Regions from separate parts of the Homo sapiens genome. Here region 1 is linked to region 2. The links are contacts of gene promoters, found by promoter capture Hi-C in human tissues and cell types (Jung and others, 2019). All regions are on one chromosome and are shown on one strand. Each heading gives the region's core, a stretch centred on a gene start or on the middle of the fragment in contact. The rest is flanking DNA. Distances are from core to core; before and after follow the strand shown. Region 1 overlaps TRIT1 (tRNA isopentenyltransferase 1). Region 2 holds the start of MFSD2A (MFSD2 lysolipid transporter A, lysophospholipid).

What was found. The method cuts DNA at HindIII sites, captures the fragments that hold promoters and counts their contacts. A contact is called where the count stands out against the background at its distance.
Region 1: a fragment that was not itself captured here is called in contact with the fragment with the promoter of MFSD2A in region 2 in 5 of the 25 tissues and cell types used here (H1 embryonic stem cells, IMR-90 fibroblasts, hippocampus and 2 more).

What each region holds. Positions count from the first base shown.
Region 1 is chr1:39,874,065-39,879,080 of GRCh38, reverse strand. All of the region lies in intron 1 of TRIT1 (tRNA isopentenyltransferase 1), which reads left to right. Among named protein-coding and RNA genes, the nearest start is that of MYCL-AS1, 6.6 kb to the left of the region's middle. The HindIII fragment of the contact is 6,954 bases long and covers 1-5,016 here.
Region 2 is chr1:39,953,434-39,958,614 of GRCh38, reverse strand. It overlaps MFSD2A (MFSD2 lysolipid transporter A, lysophospholipid), which reads right to left and starts at 3,470. Exons shown (of 14, transcript NM_032793.5): 1 at 3,230-3,470; 2 at 1,394-1,528. The coding sequence starts at 3,322. RefSeq lists a silencer at 3,519-3,648. The HindIII fragment of the contact is 9,041 bases long and covers 806-5,181 here.

The DNA.
Region 1 (5,016 bases), core at 1,291-3,790, 79 kb after region 2:
AGCTAGGATGGTCTCGATCTCTTGACCTCGGGATCCGCCAGCCTCGGCCTCCCAAAATGCTGAGATTACAGGCATGAGCCACTGCGCCAGGCCAGGAGTTTTTAACTTGTATGCCAGTTATCCTTCTTAGGAGTGTGCAACATTTTGATCAGGAAAAAGATGTATTTTAGGATTCATATTGTAAATCACAGTGTTAATTCATAGTGATATCTGTCAAGTGGAGTGTTGAGCTGACTGGAAGCCACCTGATGTACTTTGGGGATAAAATTTGCTGCAGCTAAGAGATATTAATAGAATCTAATGTCAAGTTCGTATCAAAGACAGATAGTGTTTATTGGAACAAAGGGTAAACTTGGACTTGTGGAGAGCCTAGACAGAACAGTAAACTTCTTTGTTGTAACACACCAAAGGGTGACCAAATAGAAAGTGTGATCATAGAAAGTTTTTTCAAGTTTCTAAATTGGGTTTTTTAAAACCAATATTTGCATTTTAATAATTCCTTTTGGTGTGCTGCTGAAAATTTTCTATTCAGAAGTGTACCAGTAACTCAGAAACTATTGTACAACACTATCTTAAATGTTAAATTGTCTCGTACTTCATACTGCTTTTGTCATCCCTTTGTCCTGCTTTAAAATGTAGGGTCATCCAAGGCAACACCTACCCAAGGTCAACCCTACAGCACCTACAGGGCAGTTCCTATCCAGAGAAAGTATTTGTTTTTGTAAACATTGAATAAGTACTTTAAGCTTTGAGGTAAAACTACAATGGGGTTGTTAAAGGTATTGTGTCTATGGTGATCATTTCTTCATGTAGCCTGATATGCAGTGACTTGCTTCTGTAGCCATCTAGCATCTGAAGGTACTGCCTGTCCTCTTTCTTCCCAGTGTTCTTTTTTCTTTTTCTTTTTTTTTCTATGACACAGCCCCAGGAGGTCCTGAAAACACATGCCCTTCCATGATTCTTATGCAAGGTAGTTGTGGATTGGGAAGTCAGAACTACTTTCTGAGGGGATTACCTTCTTTGGGATTTCTCTTGGGTTTTGCTGAGGATTTCTACATGGCCATTCTGACAGAAGTGAGAAACAACATTTGTGCTTTATTTTCTGAGTCTTCTGAATGCTGGTTGTTTCACAAATTATAGAAATAAAAATATTCTCATTCAGTAGTAAGAGTCTGAATTCAAGGAGGGACAGGTAATACAATCCCTGTTTTCCAGGATGGAAAAACTGGAGCTACAGAAGATTAAAGAGCTGTCTAGAGATCACACTGCAAGACACTGGGAATTGGATCTGGGTCTTCTAACTCATTTGTAGAGTCTGATGTATTTCAGGAAGATGATACCGAAGGTCTTCTTTTCAGTCTGAGTCTTTTTCTTGGCTTGTAAATTCAAGGTACAGTGCCGGGCCTTCAGTGACTGGATGAAACATTGTACTGAGAAAATTGAAGGCCCTTGCCAAACATGTACAATGATGGCCTGGAAATACAAACTACCAACTATATGCTAAGAGAAAAGAAACAAAGTGTTCTGTTCGGGTTTATAGAGAGGAAGTGTCTCTAATGCCTCAGTTTTTCAAGTCCTGTGGAGAAGCAGTAGCCGTACATAGGAGCACAGTTCCTTTTGTGTTTGTTTAAACCTACAAGAGGAGAAACAAATGATTTTTGGCAGTCTGACTAGTAAGCAAGCAGAATATGTGTCATCTCGTCATCCAATAGATGTGGAGCTCTTTGTTCTTTTTTTTTTTTTTTTTTTTTTAATAGAAGCACCATGTTGCCCAGGCTGATCTTGAACACTCTTGGCCCCAAGTGATCCTCCTGCATTGGCCTCCCAAAGTGCTAGGATTACAGGCATGAGCTACCCCACCTGGCCTCTGTATTCTTTTTGTTTGCTTTGGGACATACTGTAGGAGCAGTGTTTGTACCAAAAGACTGTCTGATCAAGGGAGATATGGGATGCTTGGGGGAGGGATATGAAAGGAGAGATGGGATGGTGGATCACAGTGGCTTAATAAAATGTGAAATAAAAGGCTTGAAGACCTGTTTTTTTTTTTTTTTTTTTTTTTTTGAAGACCCATTAACCAGGAGAAAAGGGGTCTATCTGGAAGGTATTTGCCACAACTGACAAAGGCAGTCCTTTTTTTTTTGTTTTTTTTTTTTGAGATGGAGTCTTGCTGTGTCACCCAGGCTGGAGTGCAGTGACTCCATCTCGGCCCACTGCAACCTAAGCCTCCCAAGTTCTAGCCATTCTCCTGCCTCAGCCTCCTGAGTAGCTGGGACTACAGGCGCCCGCCACCACGCCTGGCTAATTTTTTGTATTTTTAGTAGAGACAGGGTTTCACCGTGTTAGCCAGGATGGTCTCAATCTCCTGACCTCAGGTGATCCGCCAGCCTCGGCCTCTCAAAGTGCTGTGATTACAAGCGTGAGCCACTGCACCCAGCCAAAGGCAGTCTTTTAGAAGGACTGAGACTTACAAGAGGCTAAAAAGGAAATCTCAAAATTTTCGACTCATCATTCATATATATATATAGATAGATAGATAGATAGATAGATAGATACACATATAAATAATGAGTTTCTAGGTCCCTTGGTTCACCTCCATTGTAAGTGAATTTAGTTTTCTTTTGGCTGCAGTATTAAGCTGTGTATGTTGTACATATGTGGTCATGTTTTTGCACCTACAGGGAGAACTTTGGAGTCAAATCTGTGTTATATAAGGAAGGAGAAGTGACTACTGGCCAAACAGGAAACCATAGGAGAGCACAGATGAGGCTTGCAGATTCAGATTCATGAGGATGAGTGCTACCCTGATGTTTCAGTGCCTGAGGCAGGGTGTTGAAGCAGCTCCACTTCAAAAAGATATATTTGAGGAGTAAAAGTTACTTGGGGTATATAGGAATTCACATATGTGCTCCATTATGATTTAATGGAATTGGTTTTGTTTTTCTGTGTAGTTTTGGATTCCTCAGAAACTTGAATCAGACCAGGACCCTGTTGGCCTCTTGATCCCTTTGGGGCTCTGCTTGTGAGTAGCAGCCTCCCTGTACCTCCCTCATTGTGGCAGTCAGAGTTCAAGCCCTCATTACAGGAATGATCATAATAATTATACTACTGAAGATAATAGCAAGAATAATATATATGTCAGGCAGTTCTAAAAGTTTGACAAATATTATCTAATATCCTTACCGTAGCCTTTTGCCGTGGGTGCTGTTATTGTCTCCTCCCTACCAAAAATTACTTTATTAAATCCTCATCTCCATGCTGTTTTATACTTTTTCCTCTAACTCTTATTTATTTATTCATTCATCCTCCATCCCATTCTTTTCCTCTGTACCACTGTGTACATTTTATCAAGCAGAAAAGTGGGAAGAATAATATTACTGACAAAAGAACAGTATGGGCAAAGTTAAGAAAATGCATGGTATGTTTTCAAGGAATGACCAGCAACTATCTGGCATAGAGGGTACTTGAGGGACAGTGGTAGGAGGTAAAACTAAAAATATAGACCCTGGGAACAAATTTTTGAGGCCCTCAAAAGTCATGCCATGAGGTTTGAGGTTTTAAAGAGGGAAGTGGTAGTAAGTCTATTTTTTTTTTTCAAGACAGAGTCTCGCTCTGTCACCCAGGCTGGAGTGCAGTGGCGCAATCTCAGCTCACTGCAACCTCCACCTCCCGGGTTCAAGCAAGTCTCCTGCCTTAGCCTCCTGAGTAGCTGGGATTACAGACGCATGCCACCACGCCTGGCTAATTTTTGTATTTTTGGTAGAGACAGGGTTTCACCATGTTGGTCAGGCTGGTCTCGAACTCCTGACCTCGTGATCTGCCCACCTCGGGCTCCCAAAGGGTTGGAATTACAGGCGTGAGCCACTGCACCTGGCCTGTAAATCTATTTTATGAAGTAACTGGGTGGAGAGTGGGTTAGAGAAGGAAAAACAGTTTAGGATTCTGTTACATTAGTCTGGGTGAGAGAGGCTGGAGTTGGGCTTTGGCTGGAGAGAATAGGTAACCATTTTGATATTTTGTAAACAGAACCAACAGGATTTTGGTTATTGAATTGGAAGCACTATGAAAAAAATGAGAACAAAGCATTTTTGTGTTCAGAAAAATGAGACATGCGGGGGCCGGGCACAGTGGCTCACGCCTATAATTCCAGCACTTTGGGAGGCTGAGGCGGGCAGATCACCTGAGGTCAGGAGCTCGAGACCAGCCTGACCAACATGGAGAAACCCTATCTCCACTAAAAATACAAAAAAATTAGTCAAGCATGGTGGTGCATGCCTGTAATCTCAGCTACTCAGGAGACTAAGGCAGGAGAATCACTTGAACCCAGGAGGCGGAGGTTGCAGTGAGCCGAGATCACGCCATTGCACTCCAGCCTGGGCAACAAGAGCGAAACTCCATCTCAAAAAAAAAAAGAAAAGAAAAATGAGACATGCTTATTAAAAAAATCCAATAATACTGAAAAGTACAGAGACAATTTAACCATAGTCTTAGCATCCTGGAGTAATGATTTTGGTTCACATCCTTCCAGACATTTGTATATATATTTAAGCACATGTGTCATGTGTGTATATGTTATTACATAAATTGACTCAGAGGTTAGATACTATTCTATTTTCTTTTAACACTATGTTATGGATATCTTTATATGTTAATGTATATAGCTATATCAGTAGTCTCAACTTGGGGTGATTTGGCCTCCTAGGGGACGTTTGGCAATCCCTGGAGACATTTTTGGTTCTAATAACTGGGGAGGTGGGTTCCTGGCATCTAATGGGTAGAGGCCAGAGACATTGCTAACATTCTAGTAGGCACAGGACAACTTCCCATAACAGAATTATTTGGCCCCAAATATTAATTGTACTAAAGTTAAGAAACTGTCCTATATTATTGTTTTTATAATTTTTTATTGATTGATTGATTGAGACACGGTCTTACTGTGTTACCCAGGCTGGTTTCAAACTCCTGGGCTCAAGCAGTCGTCCCACTTCACCTTCCAAGTAGCTGAGATTACAGGTTTAA
Region 2 (5,181 bases), core at 2,221-4,720:
CTATCTCAGCCAGGATCTTGTGACCCTGAGCTGCTCCCACATGGACCTTACACATCTTCACTTGCCTTGTTAATAATGACAATAGCATTTCTCCAATAACAGTAGCACTGGGTGCCTCCTTAGAAGCTTTCCCAGCTCTGTCTCCTTAATTGCTTCCCTCCACTGCCCTTGAAAACATTCCCATCAATTCAAATGAATCCACAAACATTTCCTTCCCTCCCTCTCTCAGCCCTGAGCTCCTGACCACCTGATATCAGAATGAGCATTCACGGGGTGAACACAGTGTGCTTCAGTGTTCCCATCTGTATAATGGGAGTTATGAGCTCTACCTTACAGGTTCAAGCTCTATCTTGGATGTGGAAAAAGGAGCCTATAGATGCTTTTTAAAAAGGGACTTGTCACTACCCACTCAAGTTATCCCCCTCCCCGCCCCAAAACCCCCCAGGCCCTAAATACAGACTCTCCAGACTCCTCCTTATCCATCAAAGCCCTGCTATTGCTATTTCTCTGGGGAGTGGGTATTCTTCCCCATACCATAGTCTCCCTAGTCTAACCCCCCAACCCCAGCTCTAACACCCACTACAACAGGTTTACACTTTGACTGCAGGTTCCTCATATTTACACCCCACCCAAGGCCCAGCCCATGGGAGTTACTCAAAAATTAGCTGCTGAAGTTTTTTGTTCCTTCTGGAGTTCAGTGTTCCCCCTCTGTAAATGGATACAACTAAGATGCGATGCTTGCCAAGTTAGATGCTACACAGAGAAGACAGCTGGTGCAGGAGCCCCGGTAGTCATGGCTATTCTGCCTCCCACTCTCCCATCCAGACAGGGTGAATTCTCAGGATGCCAGGCTTCTGGCCAAGGCTTCTCAATGCACAGAATAGTCCTGTTTCACCCTAAGTACCCCTCCCAGTCAAAGACCCTGTGTACTGGGGCATTCTAACTTAGCCTGGCACCTAAGTGCCCTTCTGCTCCTCAGGTAAAGGTGGGATGCATCTCATCCACAAGCCTGGCAACAGCCACCAACCCCTGAGTCAAGCCAGCTGACTATCTCCCAGCCAGGAACACAGTGTGCCAGTCTCTTCTAAGAACAGCATCCCCAGCAGGCCCCATTCTCCCTCATTCTACCGCCTACCCCTTCAGGCTCTGTTGCTCATGCCAGGCAAGGAGGAGTTGCCAGACCTTTCCAGCAAAGACTCCTGGAGTGGAGACACTCCTTTACTGGATACTTTCCAGGGTCTTCTCATTTCTTGCTCACTGACTCAGAGGCAGCAAAGTAGTGATTTGGGGTCCCATTTCACAGATGGGGAAAACTGAGCGAACTGACCCAGGGGTGCATAGTCTTTCCCACCTCAGGATGCTGAAGGAGCCCTCGAAGGCTTAGACCACTCACCTGAGCCACATCCAATAGGTAGATCTGAAGGAAGAAACCCAGGGCACAGCCCGTCACCTGGTAGGGGGCTCCCCCAAGTGCATAGCAAAGCTTGTTGCAAACAGACAACTGTTGTTTCTTCTTTTTCGGTTCTTTCTGGGAAGAGGAGGAAAAGATGAAAGGCCCAAGGTTCTGGCCTCCATCCAAGAAGGTTCCACAGGAAGGACCATCCCTCTGGCCAGCTCTACCAGAACAAACAACTCTGCTTTGACCTGTTCCTATCCAGGAGATCCCACCTTTTTTTTTTTTTTTTTTTTTTTTTTTTTTGAGACAGAGTCTTGCTCTGTTGCCCAGGCTGGAGTGCAGTGGTGCCATCTCGGCTCACTGCAAGCTCCGCCTCCTGGGTTCACGCCATTCTCCTGCCTCAGCCTCCCAAGTAGCTGGGACTACAGGCACCCACTACCACACCCAGCTAATTTTTTGTATTTTAAGTAGAGACGGGGTTTCACCATGTTAGCCAGCATGGTCTCGATCTCCGAGATCCCACTTTATACAAAAGAAAGGTGTTCTCCATTCTTAGGAACATGGAAAAGGGGAATCCATACTTGTGTGAAAGTAGCCCCTAAGCCACCTCCCTCCTGGAGATTCTAAGGAAACTTATCAGCCCACCATCCCTAAAGAACTCCTCCCAAGGCCTCAGGCACTGCTCCTTTCCAGGTTTCAGGGGGAGCATGCTCCAGCAGCCGACCTGTCCCCACCCGGCACCAGCTGCCACAACCTGAAAATCCGCTTGCTGCCAAGAGCTGCCTGAGCCCAGCCCAGGCTCCCACCCTGCCTCAGAGACAGGATCCACCTGCCTACTCCTGGTGAGAGCTCTAGAGAGCTACGGGGGCCCGGCCCAGCTGGCTGCAGGCGCAGCTGTTCCACCTATCCCAGAGCATCCCTGACCACTATAGGCAGCCAGAGCTTCAGGCGGACCCAGGAACTGTCCTACTCTCCAGCTTCCCGACCCATCGCCCTCCACCCCTGAGCTCCTAGAGGACCTTGGAGACGGGAGGAAAGGCCTCCAGGTTCAGGCCTGATCCCTCTCCGGGTGGGGCACTAGGGAGGTTGGGTTGCCCAGGGAAAGTAGATATTACTCATACATAGTAACAGCATAATTGCTCACCCAGCTCCTTCCAAAGATCAGTTAATAAAATTAAAAGGAAAAGGCAGTCACCTCCCACGAAGGTATCTATTGCCTGAGATCCTTTCCTAGGGGGCCGCCTCATTTTATTTGGTCCTTCAATAAGTCCCCAGGGCTGGGGATGTGGTCGATGGTCTCGATGCGCAAAGCACCGTTCCCGCGCGAACATCCACATTCAGACAAATGCCTGAGGGACGCGGCTCCTTTAAGAGCAGAGCTCTTGTTCTTATGAATGAACTTGAGCGGCCCTAACAGCAGAGTTGAGGCGCAAGAGTAGGTGGGTGGAGTGGGAGGTAGGGGATGAGAGATGGGGAACCAAGGGGAGTTTCCCAGATTTCTGGGGTCATCTCTGGGGTTTGGGGCGGCAAGCCCCAGCCGCTCAACACGGAAGAATGGAAACCGGCTAGGCAGAGCGGGGAATCACATGGGGCTGCCGGCAGAGCCTCTCCGCAGAGCGTGGAGTGCGGGTGAGCAAAGGGGGGCGAGGGCGCCCACAGCTTTTCTCCGTCACCCCCTGTCCCAGGGCACCCCCAGGTCCTCTCTGGCTCGTAGGCTTCCTGTCCCTGGCTATCCCAATGGTCCCCTGACCAGGCCGACCCCGGGACGCCCCTGATCCCCCATTTCCGCCTCCTCCCTCCCCTCGCCCTCCACGCGGGGTGCCGGGCCCTCACCTTCACCTGGGCCGGGCGTTCAGTGCTTTGGAGGATGCTGGTGGGTAGCAGCCCCGCCGCGGAGCCGCTCTCGGCGCCTTCTCCTTTGGCCATGACCCGCGGGCCACGCCGCTTGGGACCTGGTAGACGGGATGCTCCTCTGCCCCGCAGGCCGCTGCTCCTCCCAAGCTCGCTTCGTAGCAGCCTTAGCCACGGCCGCCGCGCGCTAGCCAAGCCGGCTGGCAGACGAGGAACGCACTCTGCTGCACGCCCCCTCCGCGCCTCTTATAGTTCTGCCCAGCCCTCTCGGTTGCGGCCAATCCCCGAGCCCCGCTGCCCCGCCTCCAGCCAATCCCGTCGCCCGCCTCCCTGCCCCCGCCTCGCCCGGCGGCTCTGTGCCACCGAGCCACGTTCTCCAAGCCCCGGAACCGGCATCTGCCTGCGCTGGCTCCTAGCAATCCGAGAAGCAGGCCGCGAGACCTCCCAGACACGCGCGAGGAAACCGAGGCCCCAGGCTGAAAGTGATCTGCCCGGGGTCCCCGATCTGCCCGAGGTCCCCGAGGTCCCCAAGGTCCGACTCTCCCCGAGTCGGGCCTACCACCCATGACTTCTGAGCCCCAGGCCTAGGAAAGGTAGGGGCTCTGAAGCCCACTTTAAAATCTGGAGTCAGGGCCTCTCTCCTTCTTCAAGCCTAGAGGACGTACGCTGACACTTTCCCTCCTGATGCCTCTCTCTCATCCCCGAAGACACACCATTCCCCCGTCCTGCCCTTGGCATCCGGGCAATGGGGAGAAAGATGAGGCAATCCAGTGGCTGCCCCTGCCAGAAGGGAGCTCCCAAGTCGTGGAGAGAAGCCGGGGCTACGCCCGCTAGTACACTATGACAACAGTGGCCTTTTTATGGATAGCTTCCTCCATGCTTAATATGATCTCTTTCGGCCCTCAAAAACCACCAAGTGAGGGTGGTACTATTATTATCCCCATTTTACAGCACAGGAAGGGGAAACTTGGAGAAGTGAAGCAACTGTTATGTAGCAGAGCCAGGCCTGAAAGGTTTTGTCCGATACCAAAGCAGTTGCTCTCAACAGCCCTGCTCTATCCCTCTTAGCATAAATTACAGACGGCAGAATGGGGTGTATGTGTCTCCCAACAAGAAGCCCTGGGAGATACATGGCTCCAGAGGCACTGAGGGTTGAAACAGGGAAAGTTTTGAAAAAGAGAATGCCCAGAAATGTGGTCCTCAAAAGAAGATGGGAGGGCATTAGTTTGGAACAGAAGGCAGGCACGGATGCCAGAAAAGAACAGTCTTTAGTTCCACCTCTGAGTCCCTTATGTCAATGTCACCCCGGTCTTTCCAGTTCTCTGATTAGTGAAGGGGCTGCTGGAACTCTCAAAGGCTACCCACCCGGTTCCTGTGCTCCTTAATGTCAGCCTCCTTCTTCCTTTCTTTAAATCTCTGATTGCAGGGAGGAGAGATAAGGTCTATCTGCCCCAGGATGGTCACACCATGCTCCCTCATACGCCAGCAGATCCCATCTGGGCACACAGCTCTTGGCCATTGCTGAGCAGAAGAGAGCCAAAGTGAGGCACTGAATACTGTGGAAAGGGAATGGCTGGCCCCATTACTCCAAGCTGTGTGACACTGTTCTGTCTCTTTTCCCCTCTCCAGGCTTGGTTAGCTAAGCTCCCTTGCAGCCCCCAAATCTTCTCTCCCACAGTCACACCATACCACAAGTGATCTGTATCCCCCGGTTGACAATGAGCTCCTCAGGTAGGAACCGCATCTTTTTCACTTCTGTGTCCCCACCAACTAGCTTAGGGCCTGAATTATTGTGTTCAGTGAATGAATGTTCAGTCTTCCCCTGCTAAGGTACAAGCACACAGAAACCCATTAGGAAAAGCCCTAAGTGTCTCCATTTACTAGCTGTGCGGCTGACTCTGAACAACTCAGTTAACCTCCCTGTGTAAAATGGT